Regions from separate parts of the Homo sapiens genome. Here regions 2, 3, 4 and 5 are each linked to region 1. Evidence: promoter capture Hi-C in 16 types of primary human blood cells and fetal thymus (Javierre and others, 2016). All regions are on one chromosome and are shown on one strand. The core of a region is centred on a gene start or on the middle of the fragment in contact, and the rest is flanking DNA. Distances in the headings are between cores, read along the strand shown.

The links. The method cuts DNA at HindIII sites, captures the fragments that hold promoters and counts their contacts. A CHiCAGO score of 5 or more calls a contact.
Region 2: a contact is called between a fragment that was not itself captured here and the fragment with the promoter of DEPTOR in region 1, in 3 of 17 cell types (naive B cells, total B cells and non-activated CD4 T cells). The highest score is 7.8, in naive B cells.
Region 3: a fragment that was not itself captured here is called in contact with the fragment with the promoter of DEPTOR in region 1 in 9 of 17 cell types (naive B cells, total B cells, naive CD4 T cells and 6 more); the score reaches 18.4 in naive B cells.
Region 4: a contact is called between a fragment that was not itself captured here and the fragment with the promoter of DEPTOR in region 1, in 8 of 17 cell types (naive B cells, total B cells, naive CD8 T cells and 5 more). The highest score is 16.0, in naive B cells.
Region 5: a fragment that was not itself captured here is called in contact with the fragment with the promoter of DEPTOR in region 1 in 4 of 17 cell types (total B cells, fetal thymus, naive B cells and 1 more); the score reaches 8.5 in total B cells.

Annotation. Positions count from the first base shown.
Region 1 is chr8:119,872,425-119,875,048 of GRCh38, forward strand. DEPTOR (DEP domain containing MTOR interacting protein) reads left to right here and starts at 1,298. Exons shown (of 9, transcript NM_022783.4): 1 at 1,298-1,544. The coding sequence starts at 1,423. RefSeq lists enhancers at 1,125-1,419, 1,160-1,660, 1,336-1,595, 1,661-2,161, 1,796-1,895 and 1 more and a silencer at 1,144-1,316. The HindIII fragment of the contact is 2,864 bases long and covers 1-2,624 here.
Region 2 is chr8:120,965,954-120,968,577 of GRCh38, forward strand. No RefSeq gene overlaps it. Among named protein-coding and RNA genes, the nearest start is that of SNTB1, 160 kb to the left of the region's middle. The HindIII fragment of the contact is 3,155 bases long and covers 1-2,624 here.
Region 3 is chr8:120,949,683-120,952,306 of GRCh38, forward strand. No RefSeq gene overlaps it. Among named protein-coding and RNA genes, the nearest start is that of SNTB1, 140 kb to the left of the region's middle. The HindIII fragment of the contact is 2,603 bases long and covers 38-2,624 here.
Region 4 is chr8:120,933,391-120,936,014 of GRCh38, forward strand. No RefSeq gene overlaps it. Among named protein-coding and RNA genes, the nearest start is that of SNTB1, 120 kb to the left of the region's middle. The HindIII fragment of the contact is 3,249 bases long and covers 1-2,624 here.
Region 5 is chr8:120,913,886-120,916,509 of GRCh38, forward strand. No RefSeq gene overlaps it. Among named protein-coding and RNA genes, the nearest start is that of SNTB1, 100 kb to the left of the region's middle. The HindIII fragment of the contact is 1,151 bases long and covers 732-1,882 here.

The DNA.
Region 1 (2,624 bases), core at 48-2,547:
ATAAAGTGTTTGGCACAATGTAAAGCACAGAATAAATGCTCAACACACATGAATACTGCCATAAACATTACTTCGCCTTCCTGCAGACCAACTCCGACTCTGCATGAAACAGAAAATCAGAACATTTATTTGGTACTAATCAAATTTCTTTTCATAATCTTTTACGGATAGACAATACCATTGTATCCCCATTTTAAGAGGCAGTCTTTCAGTCTTTTCAAAGCATAACTTTGAAGCCAGAATTGCCTCGGTTAGATTTCTTCTTATTATTATTATGATGATTTGAGACGGAGTCTCGCTCTTGTTGCCCAGGCTGGAATGCAATGGCACTAACTCCGCTCACCCGAACTCGGCTTACAGCAACCTCCGCCTCCCGGGTTCGAGCGATTCTCCTGCCTCAGCCTCCGAAGTAGCTAGGATTACAGGCATGCACCACCACGCCCGGCTAATTTTGTATTTTTAGTAGAGACGGGGTTTCTTCATGTTGGTCAGGCTGGTCTGGAACTCCTGACCTCAGGTGATCTGCCCGCCTCGGCCTCCCAAAGTGCTGGGATTACAGGCATGAGCCACGGTGCCCGGCTCTTCTTATACTTATTATTTGCTTGCCTTAGACAAGTAACTTCACCTCTCCAAGCCTGCATTCTAATGCAAAACGAACACCAATACCTATTTTATGAATTATTGTAATAATTAAACGAGGTAATACCATACCTGAAGTATCTTTAATGCAGCAGATGTCAAAAGTGGTAGCCGCAATTATTTTTATTTTGTAAGGGAGGATTAAACACATTTAAATAGGACATCACAGGAGCGGAGCTGGATCCCAGGTCAGCCTGATTCCTAGGCCGGCGTTCCTTATTGATTACAACATAAGGCAAACAAGTCGTCTTTGGAGAGAGAGGTTGGGGAGAGAAGAATGTTTAATTTCTCCATGCCCTTCAATGACATGTATAACCTTCACTGTTGACCATTTGGCCAGATTGTTGAATTATGTTTTGCTCTCTGGCAACTTGGGGTGTGGAACGTACAATAAAAACGCCTTCACACTAATAACCTCCAGGCCTGTCCCCAGGATTCTACAGCATGAGCTTTGTGGGTAAAGAGAGCTCACCAAATTCAGCCTCCAGCAGCACACACAGCTCAGTAGCAGCGCCCCGCCCAGATGTTTATATTTTCCTCCATCGGCCCCGCCCCCCGACCATGAGGGGCTCTAGCCACGCCCCCAAGCTCAAGTTTCTGGGGCCGGACTAGCCCAGCGCGTCTGCCTACCCATAGGGATTCCCTCTCCAGCCAATCCAGTCAGAGCAGCGGAGCTGCCCCGAACAAAGATGGCGCGGGAAGCGTCTGTGAGGGCAGACTGATCCGAGCACCCAAACCCTCGGCGGACAGCGGAGCCAGTGGTAGCCGCACGGCCCTAAAACCATGGAGGAGGGCGGCAGCACTGGCAGTGCTGGCAGTGACAGCAGCACCAGCGGGAGTGGCGGGGCGCAGCAAAGGGAGCTGGAGCGCATGGCTGAGGTCTTGGTCACCGGGGAACAGCTACGGTAAGGCAAGAGACACAGCGGGTGAGCTCACGATGGCACTGCCAACGCGTGCCCGCTGCAGTCCTGCGCGCACGCGCTCCCTGGCTCGTGGCTTGCGACTCGCGTGGGGCGCCGGAACGGCTGCGGGCGCGTGGATGGTCCTCGGTGCGCCCGCGCTTAGCTGCTGCAGCCTCGGTCCCTGAGGACTCGCTCGCCAAGCGGGGCTGCCTGGCAGAAGCCGACGAGCGGGTGGTGCGCGCTGCGCCCTAGCCTGGCTGCTGCAGTCCTGTGCCGGGCAAAGTCCCTGCCACCCACCGCGCTGTCCGTCTTCCCGTGTACCTGGACGCCGCCAGGCCTCCCGGCTGACAGCCTGCGCCTCATCCGCGAAGAGAGCAAGAGGGGTCGCTGTGGGGTCCCGAGGCGACCCCAGCCCCTCTACTCCTTGATAAAAGGAGCAAGACCAACGATAGTCTTCACTAGGTTTTCCTTTTTGCTGACAAGTCTTCCTTCACTCCCCTGAGCCTCGGTGTTTTACATCTGTAAAACAGGGCTGATTCAAGGGCTTTTTGTGAGGTTAAACTGAGAGAGCATTTCTGAAACCCTGCACCTATCAGTTAATTGGCACATCGTCCTCAATCATTTGGGTCCGCAAGGGGGCGTGGAGGCACCTTGTCGGGCTGCCTTGAGGCTGTGCCAACTCCCCGGGCTCGCACGTTTTGGGCAGCAGGATCCATGGGGACCCTGGCTCCTGCAAGAATTAAGACTTGCGGCGTCTCACGGAACTTGGGAACAAGGACGACCCCCAGAATCCCCCTTGCCATTCCCATCCCTGTATGGTCCTTCCTCTAGGGCTGTTTGGGAATAGTACTTATGGTCTAACTGGTTCTGCAGCTGCCCTTCGTGTGGTTATAAATCAGTTTGCCAGGAAAAAGAAAACCCAGCTCTGCAGCGTTTGAGCCACAACTTGTACGCGGGCCCCTGTTACTTCTAGTTCTTAGCCTGAATTCCCCAGCTTGTTTTGGTTTCTAAATGTCTGTGTTTCAGGACCTGAAAGAGTGTCTTGCAAAGGTCTCTGAAGGAGACCAATATTGGAAGTCAGAA
Region 2 (2,624 bases), core at 66-2,565, 1.1 Mb after region 1:
TCTTTGTGTACAAAGCCAAAACCTTTTTCTCTCAGTGGGATGTTTTGTTGTGGGATTCCTGGATAACCCACATTAAGGACTGTCTGTAAAGAGAGAAAATCAAGTGATGGTATCATACAGGCCAAAATAACTGTCTATAGGATGTCTTGGGGTCTTTGGTGGCATCCTGTGGGAGACAGCTCAGTTCTGCTCCTGGGATAACTGGTAGAAGACATTCTTCCAGGCAGCTCTCAGAACTTGGCTTTCAGGCTGCACACAGAACTGGAACAGTACTGGGAAATGGTCAAAACTGTACATTTTAACAAAGCTAAAAGGAGAATTTTGAATGTTTTCACCACAAAGATACATTAAATATTTGTGGTAAGAGATATGCTGATTAGCCTGATTTTATCATCCCACAATGTATACATGTATCAAAATACCACATTGTACTCCATAAATACATGCAATAACTATCTGTCAATTAAACATAAAACAAAGAGTACAAGAAAAAGAGGAAACAAGATCAGGGACAGGGGTGATGTGAGCCCTGATCACACACATACTCTCTCATGTAATTCTCATGAAGGAACTGAACACGCTGCTTAATCCTTCTGGGTTGTGCTTTCTTAGTCTATCTCTTCATAGAGTTGTTTTGAGGATGAAATGATTTGAAACATATACAGCACTTAGGAGCAGTGCTGGGACCATCAGGAGCTCTTATGGTTACCAGTGTTTGTTTAGAAGCATGAGCTTTGTAGTCAGATAAACCTGAGTTTCACTCATGACTTTGGTACTTACTTTCTTGTCTAGAGAGGGCTGAAGATACACAGATATTTCGTCTAGAGAGGGCTGAAGATACACAGATATTTATGCTTCCTGTTCAACAGTAAGGAGTTATACGTGAGAAGTGTCTACCTAGCCAGATTCCACATTTCCCATTTCTTCCTGGAGTTAAGTGTGTACAGGTGACTGCGTTCTAGATTACAGAAACTTTGCACAAGTGATGTGCACCACTTCCAGGCCTGGTTCCTTAACCCTCCCAGATACTCTCCTGCATCCTCTTTCTCCTCTTTATTCTGCTAGAATATCGAAATTGACAGAGCTTCTGGCAGCCAGGTCTCTGCCTTCCTCTTCAACAACCTAGTAGACAAGAAATGAACGTCTATTGTGTTAGTGCCAGTGTGCATTTTTGGGTTTATAGAGCAGTTAGGTATAGCCACACTTAATATATGACCCTGGGCAATTATGTATCATCTGTGAACTTCCATCTGTAAAGTGTGGGTAATGGTACTTATTTTGCAATTTTGTTGTAAGGATTAAATGAAATCAAATATAAAATTTTCAGCTTAATCAGGTTGTTATTTTTATTATTTATATACCACTAACATCTAATAGTTAAAGTGTTAGGAGACATTTGATGGTCCTTTTACATGGCTGCAGTATAAATCCCTTTTCTTTCAGTTATATGACAGAAAAGTTATGTTGTTTTCCCAGAGCTCTGGGAGAACAACAGAGGGGAAGTCTATCTGTCCTCTTTATCATCTATTCCCTTGACAGCTTTACATTGAGATTCTGCTGAGAATCTAAACCCCATAAGGTTTGGGACTGGGTCTTATCTTACATCTCTTCCCCCAGAGTAGCTAGCCTAGTGTCTTGTATATAGCAAGTGATTAACACATGTTTCTTGCATTTTTTTTTATTTTCTAGTATTTATTATTTGCATACTATGTTTCCAGCACTGTGCATGTGCTTAATTTTCTTGCATTATTTTCATACAGAGTATCTCATGTGAAACTCCTACAGTATTATGAGATGAGCAGTACTTTTCTCCACTATAGAGATAAAGTCACATCGCATAGCAGCAACAGGAGAATTAGGATAGGAATCCAGGTAATCTGACTTCAGAGCCACTACAGTTCCTCTTATGGATGAATAATAGTAATCTTTAGCTTACTGAGGACATATCATGTAAGTGCTAAACTCTTTACATGTGTAAACCCATTTAATATTCACTACAGCTGTGTAAAGATGAAATTTGTGTATTAGGTGAAGTTTGTTACATAGATATAAAAAAACTAAAGGATGCCTAACTAAGGCATCCAACCCAGTCTTTGCCGTCTTTGGGGAAAAAATTGATAACAGGAAAAATCTACTCATGAATATTTGATAATTATGAAAAAGAAAATCTGGCTGTGCATACGGTAAAAGAATTATTTAATCCTCACTCATTCCTTCACCATTGAATTAGCACCTACGGTATGTCAGGCACTGAAGGAGGAGCTGAGGTTACAGAGAAGTCAGCCCCTGCCCTCAAGAGCTTTTCTGTCTAGTGGGTGTGGGAGAAACATAAACTTAGTGAACTTAAGACATATTAGAGCAAGAGCCAGCTGAATTCTTGATGCTGGGAACAGTTGGACATAACATGACCAGTTTGTACAGTCAGAAGCAGCCAAGTAGGAGGTAATAATTTTAGTTTTACATAAAATGAATGATTTATGAGTGTTTTCTGTTGGGGGGCAGGGAAGCAAAAGAAATGAGACTTACAAGTATTTGTTGGGTTCATTTATTTTAACATTTCCCATATGCTCAGAAGACAACATAATGAAATATATTTTCTTTGTTAGACACTGAAGAGCTTGGCA
Region 3 (2,624 bases), core at 89-2,588, 1.1 Mb after region 1:
TGCATTATTTGTCTCATTTTGTAGATGAAGAAATTGAAGCTTAGGGAGCTCAAGTAACAGAGTTGGTAAATGGCAGAGCTGGGATTCTGGCTCAGGTATATCTGATTTCAGAGCCCAAGCACCTCGTTTATTAGCTGCTTTTGGTTCTACCTTCTTCCATAGCCACATGACTCACTCCCTTGCTTATTTCATGTCTCTGCTTAGTTTTCACTAATTTATCCACTCTGTAGAAAACAGCAGTCCCCTCCCTCATCCCTACACTTCCTGTCTGCCACACCGCTTTATTTAGCATTATAACATCTTATATCATATGGCACTTTACAATTACTTGCTTCTTGATCATTTGTCTCTCACTGGAACAAAAGCTCCTTAAGGCCAGGGCCCTTGTATTATTCACTGGTGTGTCTCCAGCACCCAAAGTGGTATCTGGCAGCTTCACAAAACAGGTAAGTGATTTGAGTTCACTCTGTCAAAGAACAACATTTGTTTGACTGTAGGAGTAAATTACAATTTGTTTTTATATCATATGTACAGACTGATCTGTGTGGTACAGAGACCAAGCAAATAGTGGTAATCCTTCACAGAACACATTTTATTCATATATTTTAACAAGGATGATGTACAAATATTTATCAATGCAAATTTTTATCTTTATTACACATATTCAAAAATGTCCCAATGAGTTCTGCTGCATTTTCTTTACAAATACATGTTTTGATAATAGCTTTATTTATATATAATTTATTTACCATAGAATTCACCCCTTGAAAGTGAATACTCCAGTGACTTTTACTACATTCATGAGCTTTGCAACCATGGCAGCCATCAATTTTTTTTTTTTTTTTTTTTTTTTTTGAGATGGAGTTTTGTCTTGTCACCCAGGCTGGAATGCAGTGGCGTGATCTCAGCTCACTGCAACCTCCTCCTCCCGGGTTTAAGTGATTCTCCTGCCTCTGTCTCCCGAGTAGCTGGGATTACAGGCACGTGCCACCATGCCCGGCTAAATTTTGTATTTTTAGTAGAGATGGGGTTTCACCACGTTGGCCAGGCTGATCTCGAACTCCTGACCTCAGGTGATCCGCCTGCCTTGGCCTCCCAAGCAGCCATCAATTTTAAGACCTCTTCATCACCCCCAAAAGGGTACACTTCCAAAAGGAAGCCTGTACCAATTAGCCATCATCCCCACCATTTGCTCCCAAACCTCAAGCCTAGGAAATCGTTAATCTAATTTCTTTCTCATGGATTTTCCTATTTAGACATTTGACATAAATGGAATCATGCAACACACACACACACACCGCCATAGTGGTATCTGGGGTATATAACATATACTCTATAAATATTCACATTCAAATAAATACACTAATTAATTGAGATCAGTGAAACAAGTCACAGAAAACTTAAGATTAAGACAGCCTCACTTATAATTTCATTGCCTTTAGATTTATTCTGAATGTTTTCATGTGTGTCTCATATTTGTGATGTTTTGAAGACATTCTATGAGCCATTATTTCCTCTAAGAATTGGGGAACCTGCAGTCCATACATTGGGTCTTGTTCCTCTACTTAATTTCACTTGGTTCATTGGAAAAGTACCAAGAAAGTGATGTTGCTGTTTACAATTGTTGCATAGTTGAGAAGATGGAGTAAGGCATCAGAAGCCTTCAGCTGCAGTATCCTTACCTTCCACAAGATGGTGCTCCTATTCTATAGAAGTCACTGTATTGCTCAGGTTCTGTGATGCTTGTTTTTCTGGGTTTGACTTTTTAATTTCGTTGTGCTTGTCTCTGCCTTTTTCTTAGAATTTTTGGTGTTTCTATCTCTTTCTACTTTTCTTTTTTTCTCTTATATTTAAACCTTTACCTGGGCAGTTTATTATATAGAACAAAGTAGACATCTTTATTGTTTAACAAAATAAGGTTGAGTTTTATGTTCCTTGATGTTATCTTTAAAATCTAATGAATGCACAATAATGTAGACTATATACTTATTTATCTAAGGAAAATCAAATATGTAAAAGTTGTTTCTGAGGTCAGTTATGTGGCTGTTGACTATTCTTTTCTCTCTCTAGATTAATTTTGTAAGTTTTTTTATGGTTTTTAAAAACAGGGTTTTACTGTTGCCCAGGCTGTAGTGCAGTGGCATGATCATGGCTCACTGTAGCTGCAAACGCTGGGGCTCAAGTAATCTTCTTGCCTCAGCGTCCCAAAGTGCTGAGATTACAAGTATGAACCATGGTGCCTAGCCCTATTTTGTAAGATTTTTAGAGTTGTGGCTGGGCGCAGTGGCTCACGCCTATAATCCCAGCATTTTGGGAGGCTGAGGTGGGCAGATCACCTGAGGTCAGGAGTTCAAGACCAGCCTGGCCAAGATGGTGAAAACCCATCTCTACTAAAAATACAAAAATTAGCTGGGCATGGTGGTGGGCGCCTGTAATCCCAGCTACTCAGGGGGCTGAGGCAAGGAATTGCTTGATTCCAGCCTGGGAGGCAGAGCAAGACTCCGTCTCAACGAAAAACGAAACAAAACAAAAGACTTGTGAGGCTTGGAGGTATTGAATTGTTTTTGAGGTCATTCATGTGGCTAATGACTATTTTTCCCTCTTTTAAGGTTAATTTTGTAAGA
Region 4 (2,624 bases), core at 88-2,587, 1.1 Mb after region 1:
TGCTCATTTTAAAATAACGTGATTGGGGTGTATTTTCCCTCGGAATTAATCTTTTCCCTTAAAAACATTGGGTGGATAAAAAGGGAAAATTAATGAAAGTTTTTGGTTATTGTCCTAAGGCTTCCTCCAAATCTCACTTAATTTCTTCTCTAAAAAGTATGTAAAATGGTTTTTACTGACCCAAAGCTGTGCTGCTTTGTTTGGTTTGGTATATATAATTGTTCACTGGTCTGTAGGATAAGAAGGAAGAAGAGGGAAGTCACTGTTAAGAGGCACAGTAGAGAATGGATTGTTCTCTATCCTTCAAAGGGAGTTTTGGTGAATTTATTAGGGGAGCACCAGGGTTCAGAGCACGCTGTGATAGAATTGACATGTTGTGATTTACCAGACACTGAGAAGATCCCTCTGCCCAAAATAGACACACCTGCTTGTGGATGTCTGGCAGGCCTTTAGCTGGGGACAAAGCCAGAATGGCCAGCTGTTCCCTCAGACACCCTCCCCACAGGCTGGCTCAGGCCTGAAATTCCAGCCTTGAACTTAAGGCTAAATTTTTCTCCACAATCTACTGCAAAGCACATACTTACTTCTCCCTCCTCCAACTCTAAAATAAAGGTGTCAACAGACATTTTCAATGTAGTATGAATTACATGGACTTGTGCAAATAACAGAAATTATGGAAGCAGGGGAATTCTTCTTTCCCCTTCTCCCTGCTTAATTCTAAGACTTTGGTCAAGTCTTTAACTGCTTATATACCAGTTTCCTCCTTTTAACATGAGAATAGTAAGCCAAACTGACAAAACTCTAGGGAGGACTAAATAACACAAACGTAGAAGACCACCTAGCAAAAGGCCAGAAACCCAAATGTCTATCAAAGGGACATTAGGTAAATAAATTGGGATATTTACACAATGTCATATAATGTATCCCTGAAAAGAAACATATCTGTATGTCCTGAAATACAGTAATGTCCAGGACATATTGTTAAGCAAAATAAGCAAAATGCATAGCTGTATTTATAGTATACTACAGTGTAGATAGGAAAGGAGAAGAAATAAGAAATACATATTTGTTTATGATTGCAATATCAAGATAAAACAAAAATCAATAAAAAATGCTTACCTATAGTTGGATGGAGGAAGCAGGTGAGTAGGGGATACAGAAGAGTTATGCTTCTCCACATACTTTATTTTATTTTTTGACTTTGAAATTATGTAAATGTTTTACATGATTAAAAACAAAAGAGAAAACCACATCAAAATATAACAATTTCTAAAAATTTAAAACTGAAAACGAAGAACTTAGGCATACATCAATTCTGTGGCATAATGATCTCAAGACTTATTTTAAGTGACTTTAGAACACATATTTTGATTGTACGTCCTTAGGGAGATATATCCTAAGGACAAAAAGAAGTACAAAGACATCTTAGATTGAATTTTGTTGGCTAGTTTTTAGTGGTGATATTTACATTCTTATTGAGTTTATTATATCTAAAATAGGATAAAGCAATTAAACAATTAAATTATCCTTAGGAGATAAAATTTTCAGAGCAAGAAAAGATGAACTTAAAAAAATCGTTAAAAACTCTGTAGTCCTTATTTTGAATTAGAAATATTGGTATGAATTTATAGTTTATTTTTCTTTTTCTTAAAACTACAATTTTCTCAGTCATGTCTACTGACAAGGCCTAGAACTGTGATCAGTTCAGTAGCAATAATCACTCCAAGTACCCAGAATTTGATATCTACATGCCATTTCCATGTTAAAGGAACCAGGTCTCCTTGGAGAAATGGCTGATTCTAGCATGAGCAGGAAGTATTTGAGATGAGCCTGAGATATGCTGTTATGCCCCAATGCATAAAATATATGAGGCAGCTTAAGGAGCTGATATGGTTTGGCTGTGTCCCCACCCAAATTCATCTTGAATTGTAGCTCCCATAGTTCCCACATGTTGTCGGAGGGACTGGGTGGGAGATAATTGAATCATAGAGGCAGTTTCCCCCATACTGTTCTCATGGTACTGACTAAGTCTTACGAGATCTGATGGTTTCGTAAGGGGTTTCTCCTTTCACTTGGCTCTCATTTCTCTCTTGCCTGCTGCAATTTAAGATGTGCCTTTGCTCTTCCTTTGCCTTCTGCCATGATGATGAGGCCTCCCCAGCCATGCTGAACTGTGAGTCAATTAAACCTCTTTCTTTTATGAATTACCCAGTTTTAGGTATGTCTTTATTAGTAGTGTGAGAATGGACTAATACAAGAGCTCCCACTGGGAAAACTTGCGAATAATTTAAAAGCAAATAGTGACTACAATGTTTTGAAACATGTTAAATATGCAAAATCCACAAGTTCATTTGAAGGTTGTGTGGGCACTAACTCACTATTCTGAAAAAAGACAAAAGGAAAGAATCAGGCATTAATCTGGCTTTTGTTGTTGTTTTCAGATAAACGATGAGGAAAAATTGTTCTTTATTAAAGAGTTCCAACTAATAAATACTGGAGGGCTGATAGAATTAGGAAATATCCATTTTGCTAACTGTGATGAAATAATGGATCCAGGAGGTGATCATCAACGGCTGCTAAAACTGTGAAGACTGATGAGAAACTCTGCAATGAAGGGATCAGAT
Region 5 (2,624 bases), core at 57-2,556, 1.0 Mb after region 1:
GGTGGTCTAAAACGTATGAGGCCCTAAAAGGGGTACAGGGGAGGCTTTAATTGCAAGGCAGGGTGAAGAAGAGCATCGGCAGGGACTTTTCATGTTTCCATGTTTTTCCAGGGAGGAAACAAGCTCCTCCAGTGGTGGGAGATGGAAGGAGTTGAGAAGGAGCGGAGGGGCATTCTCCACCTTTGGGGGCCTTGGCGTTTTGTCCCATGAGAATGGTTCTGCCACCGTGTGCTTTGAGTTGGGAAACATTTTTAAACTCGGCTTTGTTGGATTGGGTGTGTGATTTGTGAAAGTGGATGATTGTAAGTGTCTGTTAAAGGAGCTGGGTAGCTTGAAAATCTGTAAAATCAGAAGCTGAACCATGAGGTGGGGGCAGAGGATGATGCTTCCATAGTGGTATTTACCTCCTGGACCCACAGGGCCTCTCCCTGCTTTCATGATGTGTGTTTGCTGACCACAGCAGCTGCACTAAGCTGGGCACAGCCTGCAGGCTCCGGGGCCTCCTGGGTTTCATAGTTTAGGGGCATGTGGCAGCATGGTGGGATGCTTTGGTAATGAGTTCACCACTGAGGCCACGTGGCTTTCACCTTAAGACATTGACAGCTGCAGCAGGTTTGAAAAAATGCAGCCACTGGTAGGACTGATCAGATCTTCTCTCTGGAAAACCAGGACAAAGCACTTGCATTACAGAAGGCCTTCGGGGGGATGGGAACCTGAATAAGGCAAGAAGAAGCTTCTCATGATGACAATATGAGGGCTGGGGTGAGAGAGGTTATTTTAATTTAAATATTAAAACAGCTGAGTTTGAGATTGTTTCATTCCCTAAAGGGGTGAAGAAGTAAGTGTACACCTTCATTGTGTTTCATCCTCAGGGTATCCACTGAAACACATATTATCAACATTTTGTGGATAAAGAAATTGAAGCAGGAACAGATTAAGTGACTTTCCCAGGATCATATGGCTGGTAGATAGGTAGACACCAATTTGGCCTGTAAAACAATGATTTTTACCTTACATTGTGTGGCATCTCGTCTCAAGAGAGAAGCATGAACGTACTAGTACAACAAATGTGAGTGTCCAATTTTACCAGCATGAGGTGTATCTACCCCTCTGGGTCATCTGATAACCAGAAGAAGCATGCAGTTTGGCAAGGATATGCCATTATTACTGTGTTTTGTAATAGGCATTATTAGAGCAGAGAAGAATGAACTCTAAGATGTGACATGGGATTGGGCCAATGTGCTAGAAGGCCTTCCTTCCTCTATCCTTGCCTCTTTTTTAAAATGCTTAGGTCACATCTGGGTTAAGCTATGAGGATAAGTAAAGGATCAATTGCTGTTTAGGCAGCAGCTTGCAGGGACTCTAGCTAGCAGCATTGAGAGGCTGTCTCAAAGTTGCTCTAGGAGCTGCCAGCAGTGATGAAATCACACTGGCCATAGTTTCTGAATCTACAATTGGTGAAGTACTATAGGTGGTGACTCTTCAAGTGGCTGCCTCCCCATAAACTCCCTTTTGATTAAAGTAACTGCACATAACTCCTTACCTTAGCATTCTCCAACTCCAGTGCCCACAAGGGTCAGGTAAGTGAGTGAAACTCTTTGACAGGAGCCCGACGTAGGGACTCTGGTGAAGAGCTCAGGTGCTTTTTAATGGCTCATATAGTACTCAGTATCTGTTGACTGTGGCTAGTGTTTCTTGGCTTTCTAATTTTTCAAGGAAAGCTGGAAATCTGAGTTTTTATGTGAAATTTCCCTATTCAAAAATCATTCATGCTTAAACATTAAACTTAAATAAGTACTGTGTGAGCCAATGTTGTGCAAGTCAAACTAAATATATTTGTGGCCAGTTCTAGACTCCTGTTGGCAATAGTCACCTTGCACAAAGCTTGAGTCCTTTATTCAAAGCGCCACTGTGTTGCCTTCAGCAGATTGGAGAAAAAATGGAACTGGAGCAATGGCAACCCTCTTTAGGTTATCCCTGGAGACCTTGAGAAGCATTCTCCTCAATAGGGAAGCCTAAAACCACAGGGCAACTGTTCCAACAAGTCCTTGCTCTTAGGGAACTGGAACAGAAGATACAGAGAGAGTTAAGTCATAGTAATAGAAGTAGAAGCAGAGCCATGGACTCATCAAGAAACATTTAATGGCAGAACATTCCAATTGGATAACTGTTGCCAGGTTAATCACAGGACCAAGTGGCCAGAACTTTTGCTGTGTGTAGTAGATGTTGGTGCTACTGCTGTTTTCTGAATAAACTTCTTTTTCTGTAAGACCTGGCTCCAAGCCTATTAAGTCAGCTTCAGGGTTTATTTTATTTTATTTTTTTTTGTCCCGTTTTATCTTTACAATAAAACTCAGTGACCCAGGTAAATCTGAGTATGTCTGGGAATCTTGTAATTTCAAAGATGCTGGTGAGTGCAGCAATCTGTGGTCTAATACATATATTTGCAGTAAACCCCTTTTTCTTCACTGATGGGCTCCGGTGAACATGTGACCCTGCCCCCTCCTGCTGATTGGATAAGCGTGAGATACCTCAGCCAAGTTGAACAAATCAGACTCTCTACCTTGTGAGTTTGCAATCCTGTTTGTTCATCCATGATAACTGCTTGAGGTAAGAGGTGATGG